Regions from separate parts of the Homo sapiens genome. Here all the other regions are linked to region 1. Evidence: promoter capture Hi-C in human tissues and cell types (Jung and others, 2019). All regions are on one chromosome and are shown on one strand. The core of a region is centred on a gene start or on the middle of the fragment in contact, and the rest is flanking DNA. Distances in the headings are between cores, read along the strand shown. Region 1 holds the start of PRDM12 (PR/SET domain 12). Region 2 overlaps EXOSC2 (exosome component 2). Region 3 overlaps FUBP3 (far upstream element binding protein 3).

What was found. Contacts are between HindIII fragments. The study calls those that stand out against the background at their distance.
Region 2: a contact is called between a fragment that was not itself captured here and the fragment with the promoter of PRDM12 in region 1, in 2 of the 25 tissues and cell types used here (spleen and stomach).
Region 3: a fragment that was not itself captured here is called in contact with the fragment with the promoter of PRDM12 in region 1 in 1 of the 25 tissues and cell types used here (IMR-90 fibroblasts).

What each region holds. Positions count from the first base shown.
Region 1 is chr9:130,661,256-130,666,406 of GRCh38, reverse strand. It overlaps PRDM12 (PR/SET domain 12), which reads right to left and starts at 1,813. Exons shown (of 5, transcript NM_021619.3): 1 at 1,531-1,813. The coding sequence starts at 1,753. RefSeq lists enhancers at 566-1,239, 2,530-3,371. The HindIII fragment of the contact is 18,845 bases long and covers 1-5,151 here.
Region 2 is chr9:130,695,684-130,700,422 of GRCh38, reverse strand. EXOSC2 (exosome component 2) reads right to left here. Exons shown (of 9, transcript NM_014285.7): 3 at 2,796-2,841; 4 at 2,172-2,261; 5 at 1,029-1,094. Among named protein-coding and RNA genes, the nearest start is that of EXOSC2, 4.3 kb to the right of the region's middle. RefSeq lists an enhancer at 1,091-1,200. The HindIII fragment of the contact is 4,089 bases long and covers 301-4,389 here.
Region 3 is chr9:130,621,168-130,625,631 of GRCh38, reverse strand. It overlaps FUBP3 (far upstream element binding protein 3), which reads right to left. Exons shown (of 19, transcript NM_003934.2): 10 at 2,822-2,924; 11 at 1,921-2,021. Among named protein-coding and RNA genes, the nearest start is that of MIR6856, 2.9 kb to the left of the region's middle. The HindIII fragment of the contact is 4,458 bases long and covers 1-3,615 here.

The DNA.
Region 1 (5,151 bases), core at 564-3,063:
ACCCTCCGTGCCCTGGAAAGCGAGTGGTGCGTTGGGGATCATTTTTAGAAGTGGGTTTTTAGTCTCTCCGCGAATTCTCAAAGCATTCGCAACTTCTTCCATCCTCTGCCCCGGATAAGTTTAAGAATTAATGAGCCAACGGCAGCGAGCGGTTTTATGCACAGGGAAACTGAGGCCAGGTCCTGCAAGGAGGTGAAGGCCAACCGGAGACTCTTTCGCCTAGTCGGCTTCCGGGAGCCCACTGTGTGTCCAGGCTCTGGGCACTGGCAGAGGAGCCGGGCCGTGATCAGCGCTGGGGACAGACCTCGGGCTGGCAGGTGTTGGAGGTGCCAAAGAAGCACCGGCAGCAGCTGGCCAGGCTCTGCGCTCGCTGTGTGACCCCGGGCGCGCCCGAGTCCCTCTCTGCTCCCAGGCCCTGGGGTGCCAGGGAGGGCGGCGCCCGGGCTCAGACAAACCCCGATGTCATCTCTCTGGGCGGGGAGGAGCCGCGGCGGCCCCCAGCTCCCCGAGGGTTCCCCTGTCGGGCATCTGCGGCAGGGCTGGAAGCGGCGAGGCGCACAAGGGCGGCCTCCATGTCTTACAAGGTTCCCCTCTAAGCTACCTGGGAAAATACCCGGCGAGCGGGCCGGCTGAAAGGGGGGGGTTAAACGGTGTCCATTGCGGCGCGGCGGGCAATTTGTCACGCTGTTAAAGTGATCGCATTCATTCGGCTCCATTCGAAAGAAATTGCTAATTCTAAATTCATTAGCCCTGGAAGAATGCTGTAGCAGTAAATTGTAGCTCAATGCGGAGGGGACTTGTTTAAAAGGGGCCGAGGAATTCCCCTTACAAAAAAGGGGGATTAGATGGTTGACATAGCGTGAATGGAAGTGGAATTAGTCTTCACGGTAAATTAAGAGAGGAACAGAAATCGTAAAGGGGGAAAAGAGGGCGACGCGCAGAGATGCCAGAGCCAGGGAAAGATATTGTTTGCGGGTTGATGAATGAGGAATAAGAACTTGAGACATCTTAAAGAAAAGAAACTTTTCTCGCTCTCTCTTTCTCTCCCTCGCTCTCCCCGCGGCTTTTTCTCCCCGCCCGCCCTCCCTCCACCCCCTCCCCAGCCCCGGCTGCCTTTTAAAGTTCTTGGTTTAAGTGGGAACTTTCGTGGGTCAAGCCCAAGTTAACTAAATGAATTTAAAACCCCTTCTTTTTGAGTCAACTGCTATTACACGCCTAGTAAGGCTGTAAATGCCGGGAACCCGCCAGCTCAAGCGCAGGAGGGGAAGGGAGGGGCCGGCGGGGGCGTCGGGGCCGAGCGACGGGGTCGCCGGGGTCGGTCCTTGAGCCGGGTGGGCTGCGGAGCTGCTTGGTGGCTCGCGTCCTGGTTTGGCCCATGGGGAAACTGAGGTGCACCGAGCGCCGGGAGAGCCCAGGTTGGCGCGAGTAGCAGCGAGGCCGGGTATCCCAGCCGCGTCTCGCGCATCGCCAGGACGGGAATGGGGGTCGCCGGGAGGAGGGATTGCGCCGGGCTCCGACGGCTGGACTCACCGCCGGAGAAGGACTGCGCCAGCACCTCGGCGGTGAAGGCTGTCTTGGGGCTGGCGTGGTGGCTCTTGTCCTCGAAGAGCTGCTCCCCGAGCACGTTGCGCCAGCGGCCGTACAGGAAGCTGTGCAGGATGTCGGAGGTGATAACCTCGGCCAGCGCCAGTCCCGGCGCCTTCAGCCCGGTCTTGAGCACCAGGGCCTCAGCCGGGAGCACGGAGCCCATCATGGGCGGCCCGGAGCTCCCCGGCGCCGGGGGACGGCCGGGCCGACGGGGGAGGTGGGCGGGCGAGAGGGGAGCCCAAGGGGCGAGAGGAGAGCGCTGCGATGGAGAAGGAACCAGAGCAGGGGGAGGACGGAGAGGAGGAGGACGCAGGAGGGAGCGGGAGGTGAGGGGGCGACTGGGAGGAAAGCGAACGAGGGGGAGAGGGGAAGAGAGATGGTGAAATCTGTAGAGATGGCAAAGGCGGCGCGGAGGGTGGAGAGACGCGGGTGGAGGCGGAGGCGGGTGCGGGGGGTGCAGGGTGGGTGAGAGGCGGGTGGTTGCAGGGAAGCGGCAGCAAGGGGCTCAGGCGCGCGCTAGCCTCTCGCACACTCGGCCGGGGCCGTCTTCCCCTTGGCAAAATCTCAGCGCCTTTATAGGAGCCGCAGTGACCCTCCTAATTGGTTATTAATGACCCCCTGACGTCGGAGGACAGACTTGTTGTACCCGGCTGGGCTCGAGGAGCCTTCGTCGCGAGAGCGCGAGGGGCGGGGGCGCGCGGACCGCTCCAAACAGTACCCCTCCACTCCTCTCTCCCCTTCCTGGTCCTTCCTCCCCCCTCCTGTTTTTCCTTCTCTCCCCGTGGGAAGCGCAGGGCAGGGAGGGAGGCTCAGCCGGCTCTGAGGAGAGGAGGGGACGGAGAAGGGGAGGGGGTGCGGCGAGGCTCTCTAGGACTCCAGGGACCAGGCTAGACAAGAGGGGACGCCTGGCTTCGGGCCCCGCGCTCCCCTCAGGCCTGATCTATGTTCACCGGCCTGGCCCAGCCCGGCGTTCACCTTTACTTTGCTGCCCCGGCTGGCCGGCCCAGCCCTGCACCGCTCTCCCTCCCCGGCCAGAGCCCGCGTCCTCTTCCCTCTCCGGCCCTGCACTCCCCGGGCCGCCACAGTCGCCCCGAGCTCGCGCGCAGCCCTAGTTGCCACGCGGATCCCCTGCTCAGACTGCGCTGCTGAAGCCGGCGCTTCGCTTCATACGGGCCGCGCCAACTCGGTCGCTGTGCACGGTCGGGTGCGAAACTCCTCCGCGGGCTCACGGGGCTGCCGAGGCGGGGCCGCAGCGGCCGTCGGGGCTGGGGCTGGTCCCGGCCTGAGACAGCTTCATGGAAGGCCAGGCTCCCGGCCCTTGCGGGGCCAGGTCGGGGGTCGAGATGGGCGGACAGGAATCGCCCTGGCAGCCTGTCTCTGGGAAAAGAATTTCCTACGGGATATAGGGGGATTGAAAGGGGTCCCGAGACCCTTCCTAGGTGGGAGCAGGCGTGCCTGAGAGCGAAGTCCCTCAGAAACTGCAGGCAGCTCCGCGAGAGGCCTCAGTGCGGGTTCGGCTTGCGGCCCGGCTTTCCGGCTCCTTGCTGAGCTGCAACCTCGGGAAGCCGGTGGCGTTGCGGCGCCCCTTCCTTCTTGCCTCCTAGTTCTTTCTTTCTCCTCTGCCTCTCTCTTCTTTCCCTTCCTCTCCTCTATTCCTCCTGCCCATCATCCCAGGAGCAGACTTGCTTTGCGGCGGTTTCGAGGCACCTCGGAGCCCAGCGATCCCCTCTCCCGAAGCAGGTAGCTGCTGAGCCCAGCGGAAGGCCCCGCTTCCTGCAGGCTTCGCGGCTCCCCAGTGTCAGCCTCAAGCCTCGGACCCCAGGCCCTGACATGCTGGGTGAGGGAGCTCACCCCACCTGCCGCACTTCTGGCTCCCATCACCAGCCTACAATTTCAGATGCCGCTAACAGAGGTGCCTGGACCCTCTCGGCGTGGGTCAGGCTCACGGATTAGTCTCCGCTGGACTGTGTGGACTCCCTAGACCTTCTCCTCAGCGCGGAGGACTTGGGTGGAAGAACAGCGAGCTGACCTCCCATGAGCGAGACCCTGTCCAAACGCCTGTTGGCATAGACGCCCCTCCACCACCCGGACGCGCCTTGGCTAAGAGGGTCTCACACCTGGCGTCCAGACTCCAGACCCCTGGTCCCCAGTTCCTGCCAGTAGTCTCCGGCATCCCCCGTCCCCGTTGGGACGCAAAGGGAGGAAGGCGGCGGTAGCTGGCCTTCAGACCCTGCGTCCGGGTCCGCCCGAGGCTGGAGCCCAAGGAAGGGCACACCTGGCAGAAGGCAGGACCGTTGGGCAGGGCGCCAGCAGAGGGCAGCGCTGCTGAGGAGGGAGGTGGGTTAGGGTCGCCGAACCCTCCACTCATTTTTCGACGCAGCTTGTGGGTCGCATCGGCTCCCTGGCCAGAGCTCGAGTCTGAGGGGGCGTATGGAGTCCGATGGCTCCTGCAGGGGAGCCTCACCGGGGCCTACTTCTTGGCTTCTGGGAAGACCTAGGTGGAGAGGACAAAGTGCTAGGAGCGAGGGAGACGACGTCGGGGAGCGCTGCCAGGAGCCAAGCGCTGCGGCAGCTCCCAAGCCCCGAAAGCGACCTCAGTTCCTCCAGGACACCAAAGGGGGATAAGGACTGCTGTGTGTCCTGTGGACTGCCCCTTTCCTCTCTGGGCCTCGGTGTCCCTGTCTGTGCAATGGTTTGAGTTGGACTTTGTGAACTGAGGTTTCTTTGCTTGGTCTCTCTTTGGGTAAGATCACTTTACCCCACGACAACCCCGAGGATTTTGCCCTCTCCAGGGCCACGTCCCACTGCGGGAAGCCCTCAGGTCTGTGCATCCTCCGTGCTGGGGTGCAGCGTTTGGGTCCTGAACCCCGGCTTAGAGTTAGAGGCTTGGATTCCGCTGGCGCAGTGACCACGGGCTCGGACTGCGGCCAGGGAGTCCCATTCCTCTCCTCCGGACCCGCAAGCCCGGAGAGCAGTACTGGGAGCCGGGCAGAAGCGGAGCGCAGAACGTCCTCCCAGCTGGTGCGCCCAAATCTCCACCGCGCTCACATTTTGTGCTTCTAGTCTAGCGGCAAAACCCACCTGGACCCCCGCCCGGGGAAAAAGGAGCCCGTAGGTAGCGCCCAGTCTCAAGGTGCATTGAAATAGGGAGCAAGACCCTGTGCTCACATCTCCCCGGGAGGAGATTTCGAGGGGAAACATTCCGGGCTTTCCCAGCGGATGACCCGTGTTATTTTGTCATTTTCCGCGGGGCCCAGGCGCGGAATGTGCTCGCGCAAAAGCCCCCTCCCCTCGGCCGGGCCGGAGCTCTCAGGCTCCGTCGCCCCCCTCGCCCGCTGGCCGCCACTTGGCGATCTCTTTAATATTCATGGGCGTTAATAGAGAGGCCCTCAGTATATCGGTCCATTGTGGGCGGCTCGTAGGACTTGAATAGGCCTCGGCCCCCTTTCTTCGGCGCGGCTTCCCGAGGGGCCGGGCCAGGAGTGAATGGCCCCGCTTCCCGCTCCGCGCCCCCTCCCCCTTTCAGGGAGAACATCTTTATCCTCTTCTCCGCTGCCGCCGCCG
Region 2 (4,739 bases), core at 1,096-3,595, 33 kb before region 1:
CCACCATTGCACTCCAGCCTGGGCAACAAGAGTGAAACTCCGTCTCAAAAAAATAAATAAATAAATAAATAAATAAATAAATAAATAAATAAAATAAAGACAGAGGCCAGGCATGGTGGCTCATGCCCGTAATCCCAGCACTTTGGGAGGCCGAGGTGGGCAGATCACCTGAGGTCAGGAGTTTGAGACCAGCCTGGCCAATATGGTGAAACCTGTCTCTACTAAAAATACAAAAATTAGCCAGGCATGACGCACGCCGGTAATCCTAGCTATTTGGGAGGCTAAGGCAGAATTGCTTGAATCCAAGAGGCGGACGTTGCAGTGAGCCGAGATCGCGCCACTGCACTCCAGTCTGGGCAACAGAGCAAGACTCCGTCATTAAAAAAAAAGAAAAATTTAAAAAATAACATAAAATAGAGACAGAGTCTTGTTCTGTCACCCAAGCTGGAATGCAGTGGTGTGATCATAGCTTACTGTAGCCTTGAGCTCCTGGGCTCAAGCAACCCTCTGGCCCCAGCCTCCTGAGTAGCTAGGACTACAGGCATGTGCCACCACGCCCGGCTAATTCTTTTTTAATTTTTTTGTAGAGAGGGGGGTCTTGCTATGTTGCCCAGGCTGGTCTTGAACTCTTAGGCTCAAGCAGTCCTCCCTCCTTGGCCTTCCAAAGCGCTGGGATTACAGGCATGAGTCACCACACTCGGCCTGTCATTAATATCTTGACGTGAACAACACCTTCTCCACTCCCTGCGCTAAAAGTTAACACCATTAACAAAAGCCTAGTCTAAAGCACAGGCCACCGTAAGTTACAAGACCCAAAGAAATGACTTAGCAGCAGGTCCCAACAAGAGCTGGGGAGTCAGCCTGAATTAAGGAGACTGAGAAAGGATGCAGCAGAGCCCGACACTTGGTCTAAGACTCGGATCCCTGCAAGGATGACATGGTTCTTCCGTCAGAGACATACAATGGAAGGCCCATTTCCCAGTCCCACAGAAAAGCATCAAGAGGCTGGAGTGCAAAGCGCAGGATACACTGATAAGGTCCCCTTCCTGTAAGAAACCTCTCATTGCAAGCTCATCTTCTGCAGATCTTCTCCTCTGAAATACACAAAGAAATGACATTACTTAAGCCAGATCCTCAGAAAGGTCTCCATCACTTCTCTTTCACTTCCTTTTGAGATGTTTGAGGCCAACCACAATATTCAAGCACTGAGAACTATAGCAAGAGTAGGTAACCCAAGCCACTTGAGGGGAATCAGTGATAATCACGACTTTCCATCTCAAAAGACTTTTCCACAGCTCCTCTTCCTCTTTCCCTCCCTTCTCTGAGGAACATTCAGACCCCTCCCAATCTCACCTAGCCAACATTTCCATAGTCATCTTCCATGACAGCCCTCTGTGGTCCAGCAGGACCAGACTAACTCCTGCTTGGATATATCTCTGCTCATACATTTCCCTTTATCTCAGATTCCCTGAACTAGTCATTCAAAGTCTCTCCATCCTTCCAGGATCAACTCCAATGCCTGTCTTTCCTACAAGCTTCTCTCACTGAAATTTCCTTTTGTATAACCACAGCTTATTTATTCTTCTACTGCCAGGGACTAGGTCAGTTATCTTATATCCCCTGCTGGGGAACTCAATCGTGCTTGGCACTCGGCACAGAGCTTGGCACAGTAAGCCTCTCTGTAAATACACGCTGGACTGAAGATCAAGGTGAACCATGGCATTTTACAAAAGGCTGTGGCTTAGTTACTGTGGTTGTCTGGAATGCCAGCAACCACATTCCACACATGGTTGAATGAAATGCCTTTCAATTCACAAAAACCTAATGTAAAGACAACTTTTCAAGGAACATCTTCACTATGCAAGGCTGTTATATCCAAAAAGGAAAACTGTTAACAACCAGCATCTAAGGGCTTCTCTCCCCAACTCTCTGTTGGGATCCCACCCCATGGATGTTTCTGATCCTACCATATGCCAACTGCTCCCTCTTTCGGGAGACCTGGACAGGGTGAAAAGTCTACATACACATCTAGGCAGCAAACTTCACAGCAGACAAACAGGAGTCAAAGGGGCAACCTCAGTGTAAATCAAAGTCCTCTGGTGGAACAAAGGGTCCCACGGCTCCCCCCAGCCCACTGGGCCCTAGTCCATGGCCCCAGCTGTAGCCCTTACCAGCTCTCCTCCAGGAAGGTTCATGGACGAGAGCAGCAAGACCGAATCCAGCCTGGAGTTGGTCTCCACCTTCCACCTCTTCTGTTGAACCTATAAGCCAAGTTCCACACCTGGACACATGCTCCATGTTCATGTGTCATATCATAAATAACCAGTAAGGCCAGATGTGGTGGCTCACGCCTGTAATCCCAGCACTTTGGGAGGCCGAAGCTGGTGGATCACTTGAGGTCAGGAGTTTGAGACCAGCCTGACCAATATAATGAAACCCCATCTCTACTAAAAATACAAAAATTAGCTGGGCGTGGTGGCGGGTGCCTGTAATCCCAGCTACTTGGGAGGCTGAGGCAGGAGAATCGCTTGAACCTGGGAGGTGGAGGTTGCAGTGAGCCAAGATCATGCCACTGCACTCCAGCCTGGGCGACAGAGCGAGACTCCATCTCAAAAAAAAAAAAACATGAACCAGTAATCTGAAATCGAACAAGCCACATATTTACATCAGAAGCCACACAACGGCCAAATGCAATGAATGCCTTTTTCATGTAACTACAAGTGGAATGACTGTCCCATGAATGAAATCGCCAGCCTGCCTCGACTTTGTAAACACCAATCTGATATCGACGTTACCTCTGTGATTCGTCCCACTACGATGTCTCCTACTTCACCAATGTATCTGAAAGACAAAACACAAGGGGTTCATCCATCTGTGAGCAGACTTTCTGACAAGACCACACACCATTTGAGATGTCGGTTCAACAGGGTGAAAGCCTGGAACAGGCGCCACATTCAGCAAATTCATGTAACTATATTGTCTGGACTTACTTTCAGAAACTGCTAACTTCAAACATTCCTCCACGTATAAAGTCTCCATTAACTATCCTTAGACATATCACCATTCCAAGTAGTTCATTTAGCCCAAAAACCCTATTTTGTTCGATTACACGACAATGAAAAACACGGACTATTTTCCTGTGGCACATGGATGAGTTCTGCACCAGCCAAAGGAAGAGAAAGGAAATCTGAGCCAGGACTCCAACCACACAAGTCTGCTCACGTCTCCTCCACTTACTCACTGCCTGCTCCTCTCAAGCCCCTTTGCTAGTTCCTTACCCGCGATTCTAATGAGACGTACTCAGTGCTGAGGCTAAGTCCTTAGACCTCTTCACTTTTCGGCCACTCAATCTAATACCTTTAAAACACCACTCTGTGCTGTGACTGTGCCACTCTCCTGAATTCCAAATCCTACTCAACTGCTAGCTACCCAACTCTGCCATCTAGATGACTAACAGGCATTTTCAAATGTATCAAGCACAAAACTAAGCTTTCCCGCAGCCCCCTCCAGTCCTCCATAGCAAACCGAGATAGGGGATGAGTTGTCCCCATCTCAGTCAACGGTGACTCCATCCCCTCAGTTGCTCAGGCCAAAAACCTCGGAGAGTTCCTTGATTCCTCTCTCTCTCTCACGCTCCAGGACAAGTCCAGTAGCAAAACCTGTTGGCTCTACCCTTAAAACATATGCAGGAAATAAAAGGCATCCAAATTGGAAAGGAAGAAGTAAACTTATTTCTATTCACAGTTGACGGGGTCCTATGCACAGTAAAGCCCAAAGAATACAAAACCCAACAGCTTTTCATGATTTTAAAAAAACACTCGGAAAATAAAATCTGTGTAGATTCCAATCACTCCTCCACCTTCCACTGCTCCCACCTTAGTTGAAGCCACCATCACTTCAGATCATGAGTATGGTCCCTAATCCACCTCCCTAAGCTTGCCCTATCCCCCTTCAATCTCCCATCAGCAGCCAGAGTGAGCTTAAGTCCAGATCAAGTCCCTCCTCTGCTCCACCCCTTCCAGTGCTTCCCAGATTACACAAAGTAGAAGCCAAAATGCTTACTCTGGCTACAAGGCAGGCCCACGCCCGCCCACCTCAGCTCTCTGCTTACATCTGCCCCTTCTCTCCCCCTCACTCACTCTGTTCCAACCCCACTGGCTTGCTTTCTGGGGCTAACCTTCATTGAATGCTTCTAGGTATCAGGCTCTGTGCTAAATACTTTACAGGCACCATCTCACTGAATTCTAAAGAAAATCCTAGGCCAGGCACAGTGGCTCACGCCTGTAATCCCAGCACTTTGGGAGGCCAAGTGGGGGGAAATCATCAGAGGTCAGCAGTTCGAGACCAGCCTGGCCAACATGGTGAAACCCTGTCTCTACTAAAAATCGAAAAAAATTAGCCAGGCGTGGTGGAGGGCGCCTGTAATCCCAGCTACTCGGGAGGCTGAAGAAGGAGAATTGTTTGAACCCGGGAGGCGAAGGTTGTAGTGAGCCGAGATCACGCCACTGCACTCCAGCCTCGGCAACAGAGTAAGACTCCATCTCGGAAAAAAAAAAAAAAAAAAAAAGAGAAAATCCTATGAAGTAGGCCATGCTATTATACTCACTTTGCAGAGGAGGTAACCAAGGCTTGGAGTGGTGACATAACATGGGGAAACCTCTGAAGCCTGCACTGATCTGCACCACCCCACCTACAGTCATGGTCAAAACCTCAGACTTACAGCATGACAGGGCAGGCAG
Region 3 (4,464 bases), core at 137-2,636, 40 kb after region 1:
AGCAGCAAGTCTCATTCCAGCCGCTGTCCGCGGAGTCATTTTGGAGCTGCAGTATTTAAACTCTCTTAAATGTGGAGGGTGAACCTGGTCAAGCTAAGAGCTATTTCATGGAAGGGAGAAGCTGCACAGACTTTTCAACACATGAAGAAATGTTGGGCAAAACCTGCTCATGTTGATTAAGAGTAAAGTGAACGTTTACCCAGAATCTAAACCAGCAGAAAGCTGAGACAATTGGAGTGCTTTTCCCCCGCACTCTGCTCTTATGAGACAACTGCCAAGTAAACAAGGCAATTTTAGAATGGATGTTCACACACGCACAGGAGCGCACAGTCAACTTTCTGGGTATGCCACAGATCTCGAAGAAAAGGTTTTCTCCCAAACATCTCGCAGCCTCTGCAGTGCAAGGTTCATAAACTTTTTTTGAGACAGAGTTTTGCTCTTGTTGCCCAGGCGGGAATGCAATGGCAGGATCCTGGCTCACTGCAACCTCCGCTTCCTGGGTTTAAGCAATTCTCCTGCCTCAGCCTCCTGAGTAGCTGAAACTATAGGCATGCGCCACCACGCCCGGCTAATTTTGTATTTTTAGTAGGGACGGGTCTCACCATGTTGGTCTTGAACTCCTGACCTCAGGTGATCCACCTGCCTTGGCATCCCAAAGTGCTAGGATTACAGGCGTGAGCCACCACGTCCAGCTAATTTTGTATTTTCAGCAGAGACAGGGTTTCACCATGTTGGTCAGGCTGGTCTCGAACTCCTGACCTCAGGTGATCCGCTTGCCTCGGCCTCCCAAAATGCTGGGTACAAGAGTGAGCCACCGTGCCTGGCCAAGGTTCATAAACTCTTGCTACAAAAAAAGGATGTTAGAGATCATTTAGAGCAGGGGTGTTCAATCTTTTGGCTTCCCTGGGCCACACTGGAAGAACTGTCTTGGGCCACCCATAAAATACACTAACATTAATGATAGCTGATGAGCTTAAAAACACACACACACACACACACACACACACACACACACACACACAAAATCTTGTAACATTTTAAGAAAGTTTATGAATTTGTGTTGGGCTGCATTCAATGCTGTTCCTGGGCTGCGTGCAGCCCACAGGCTGAACGAGCTTGATTTAGTGGCCGTTTTATAAACTTGTCTAATCTTAAGAATTGCCTGGGTCTCTAGTGAAGACCCAAGACCCTCCCTTGGAAATGCTGATTCAGTAGATCTGGGGTGGGGGCCTACACATTTGTAATTTGAGTAAGAACCACCAGATGGCTCTTAGGGGATCACATAGAGAGCACTGCCTGGTGCAAAGCACCCTGAGTCTGCTGCTGGGAACACCAGACCCAGAGGTTCAAAGGCAGCTCCAAGGTCACATGACTGATGGCAGAGCTGGGACTATAATTTCCAATCTCTTGCTTTATTCTTCCGTTCTGGTCATTCTCAAATGTATCCTCAGTCCTACCATCAGTTATAGGGGTTCCTAGCACTGTCACACAGGCTGGCTCACAGTCCAAAGATGTGCATGAAATCAAGTGCATGAAGGCAGCTTTAGGACTTTGGAGGACCCTGAAGTGTCTTCTACCACTAAGACTGGATTTCACTAACACAGATTAACATTAAATACACTTGATTATTTGAAACTTGGCGACCAATCTCCATGGTATTTCCCCACATGGTTTAAATAGCCAGAAACTTACTGTGTAAAGGCAATCTAGATGGTGAGGTAAATAAAGGCAGAATAATTAATGAGCAGAAAAAAATACCAAGAAGGCAGGAAAGAGGCTGATGTAGAGAAACTGCTGGTTTCCCATAATGTGACTTGAGACGCCTCAGGGTGACAGCTCTATGGTGCTGCACCGAGAGCCCCGGGTAGCACTTTCCACTTCTGCAGCCCAAACACTCACACTCTGCAGAGCTGGACCCACCTGGGCTGTAAGAATCAGCTCGCTGATGATATGCGCTGCATGCTGACACCGATCCGGAGGGCCCATGACCTGGGCAGCTCTTTCTGGACTAATCCCATCATCTGAGGAGCCAGGTGAGAGACAGGATTAGAAAAAAGCCCAACGTTAGAAGGAAACAAGGATTAATCTGATTCCCAATCAATATTCTCACCCGCGGTGCCAAAAGGGGCAACAGGAATACTGCCAGCTGCAGGGACTCTTTTGGAGTGATGTGGGTGATAGGAAAATGTGTGTCATTATATTGTTTTGCATGTTTCAGGTCAATGCTCAATTCTTATGCAATTATAGCCATTTAAAAAATGTATCATTAAAGAACTAAAACAAAGCTTGACTTTAAAAAAGCCAAGGGAGTCAGAGCAGAGCTATGGCAACAGCTTCCAGAGAAGAGCCTGCCATGTTTTCCTCTTTTCAGACCACGTCGAAAATTTTGCTCATTAAGGCAAATTTATAAAATTTAAAAATTTGTCCTTTATTCTAAGATGTTTTGTCTTTGTGTGTGGTTTTAAATTATCTCCAATTTAATAAAATCAAAATTATACATATATATTTTAAAATTTTACTTGGCAAAATCAGAAGCTGACATACTATGCATTTATGACATACTATGCATATACTCCAGGAAGAAAAAAGAAAAAAGGCCTGGAAATCAAAGGTGACCGACATGTATCCGGGGAGGGAAAAGAAGGCTGGGAGAAGAAACTGAGATTGGTCATCTGGTAGCAGGATGTTGCAAGGATGAGAAAGGTGAATACACATGAACCAATAGCCAAGCCCTTGTTTTGTAAGGTGTTTTATCATCCTTTTAACACTAAGGATTTTTTTTTTTTTTTAACACTAAGGATTTTTAAATCATCATACCCACCTGGTTTAAACTGAATCCTCACACCAGCATCATTCTGGATCTTTTTGATCATTTCCCCGTTTCTTCCTATTACAATCCCCACAGCAAACCTAGGCACAGATACCTAGGCACAGAGAAACCAAACCACATCAGAACTTTTCACAAACCTGTCTTTTTAAAGGGCACTTTTTTTTTTTTTTTGAGACTGAGTCTCGCTCTGTTGCCCAGGCTGGAGTGCAGTGGCACAATCTCAGCTCACTGCAGCCTCTGCCTCCCGGGTTCCAATGATTCTCCCACCTCAGCCTCTAAGTAGCTGAGAAAACAGGCACAGGCAACTATGCTCGGCGAATTTTTGTATTTTTAGTACAGATGAGATTTCACCTTGCTGGCCAGGCTGGTCTTGAACTCCAGACCTCAGGTGATCCGCCCACCTCGGCCTCCCAAAGGGCTGGGATTACAGGCGTGAGCCACTGTGTCTGGCCAGGACACTTTTTTTTTTTTTTTTTTTTTTGGAGATGGAGTCTCGCTCTGTTGCCCAGCCTGCAGTGGCACGATCTTGGCTCACTGCAACCTCCACCCCTGAGGTTCAAGCAGTTCTCCCTGCCTCAGCCTCCTGAGTAGCTAGGATTACAGGCACCCGCCACCATGCCCAGTTTATTTTTGTATTTTTTAGTAGAGATGGGGTTTCACCATGTTGGCCAGGCTGGTCTTGAATTCCTGACCTCAAGTGATCTGCCTGTCTTAGCCTCCCAAAGTGCTGGGATTATGGGCGCGAGCCACCACGCCCGGCCCAGGACACATTTTTTTTTAACACGCAACTTAGTTTTTATTATAGTGCATTCCTGGAAATGATATAATAAAGGACATTTTTCCCTTTTAGGAATAATACTGTGGTTGAACTGCGTTCTTTTTTTTTTCTTTTTTTTTGAGACAGAGTCTTGCTCTGTCGCCCAGGCTGGAGTACAGTGGCACCATCTACGCTCACTGCAAGCACCGCCTCCCAGGTTCACGCCATTCTCCTGCCTCAGCCTCCCGAGTAGCTGGGACTACAGGCACGCGTCACCACACCCGGCTAATTTTTGTATTTTTAGTAGAGACAGGGTTTCACCACATTGGCCAGGCTGGTCTCGAACTCCTGACCTTGTGATCCACCCGCCTCTGCCTCCCAAAGTGCTGGGATTACAGGCGTGAGCCACCATGCCCGGCCTGAACTGCATTCTTAACTGTTAAATGCATCCAATTTGAGATTTGATCAAAATGGTTATAAAAATGAATAAGCCTTATAGATAAAAGATGAAAAATAGTAATTTTGCCTTCCAATAAACACACCATACACACTGTTACCTGGGCTGGACTTGTTATCCAGGCTGGGTTACAGTGGTGTTAACTGTAGCACACTACAGCCTCGATCTCCTGGGAGGAGTGAGCCTCCCTCCTTAGCCTCTAGAACAGCTGGGACTATAGGAATGTGCCACACTAGGCTAATTTAAAATACTTTTTTTTTTGTTTTGGTAGAGGTGGTGTCTGGCTATATTGCCCAGACAGATCTCAATCTCCTGGCCTCAAGCAGTACTCCTGCCTAAGCCTCTCAAAGCACTGGGATTACAGGCGTGAACCACCATGCATAGCCCTAGCGGTTCTTTAAAATGCATTTTTTTCCTTCA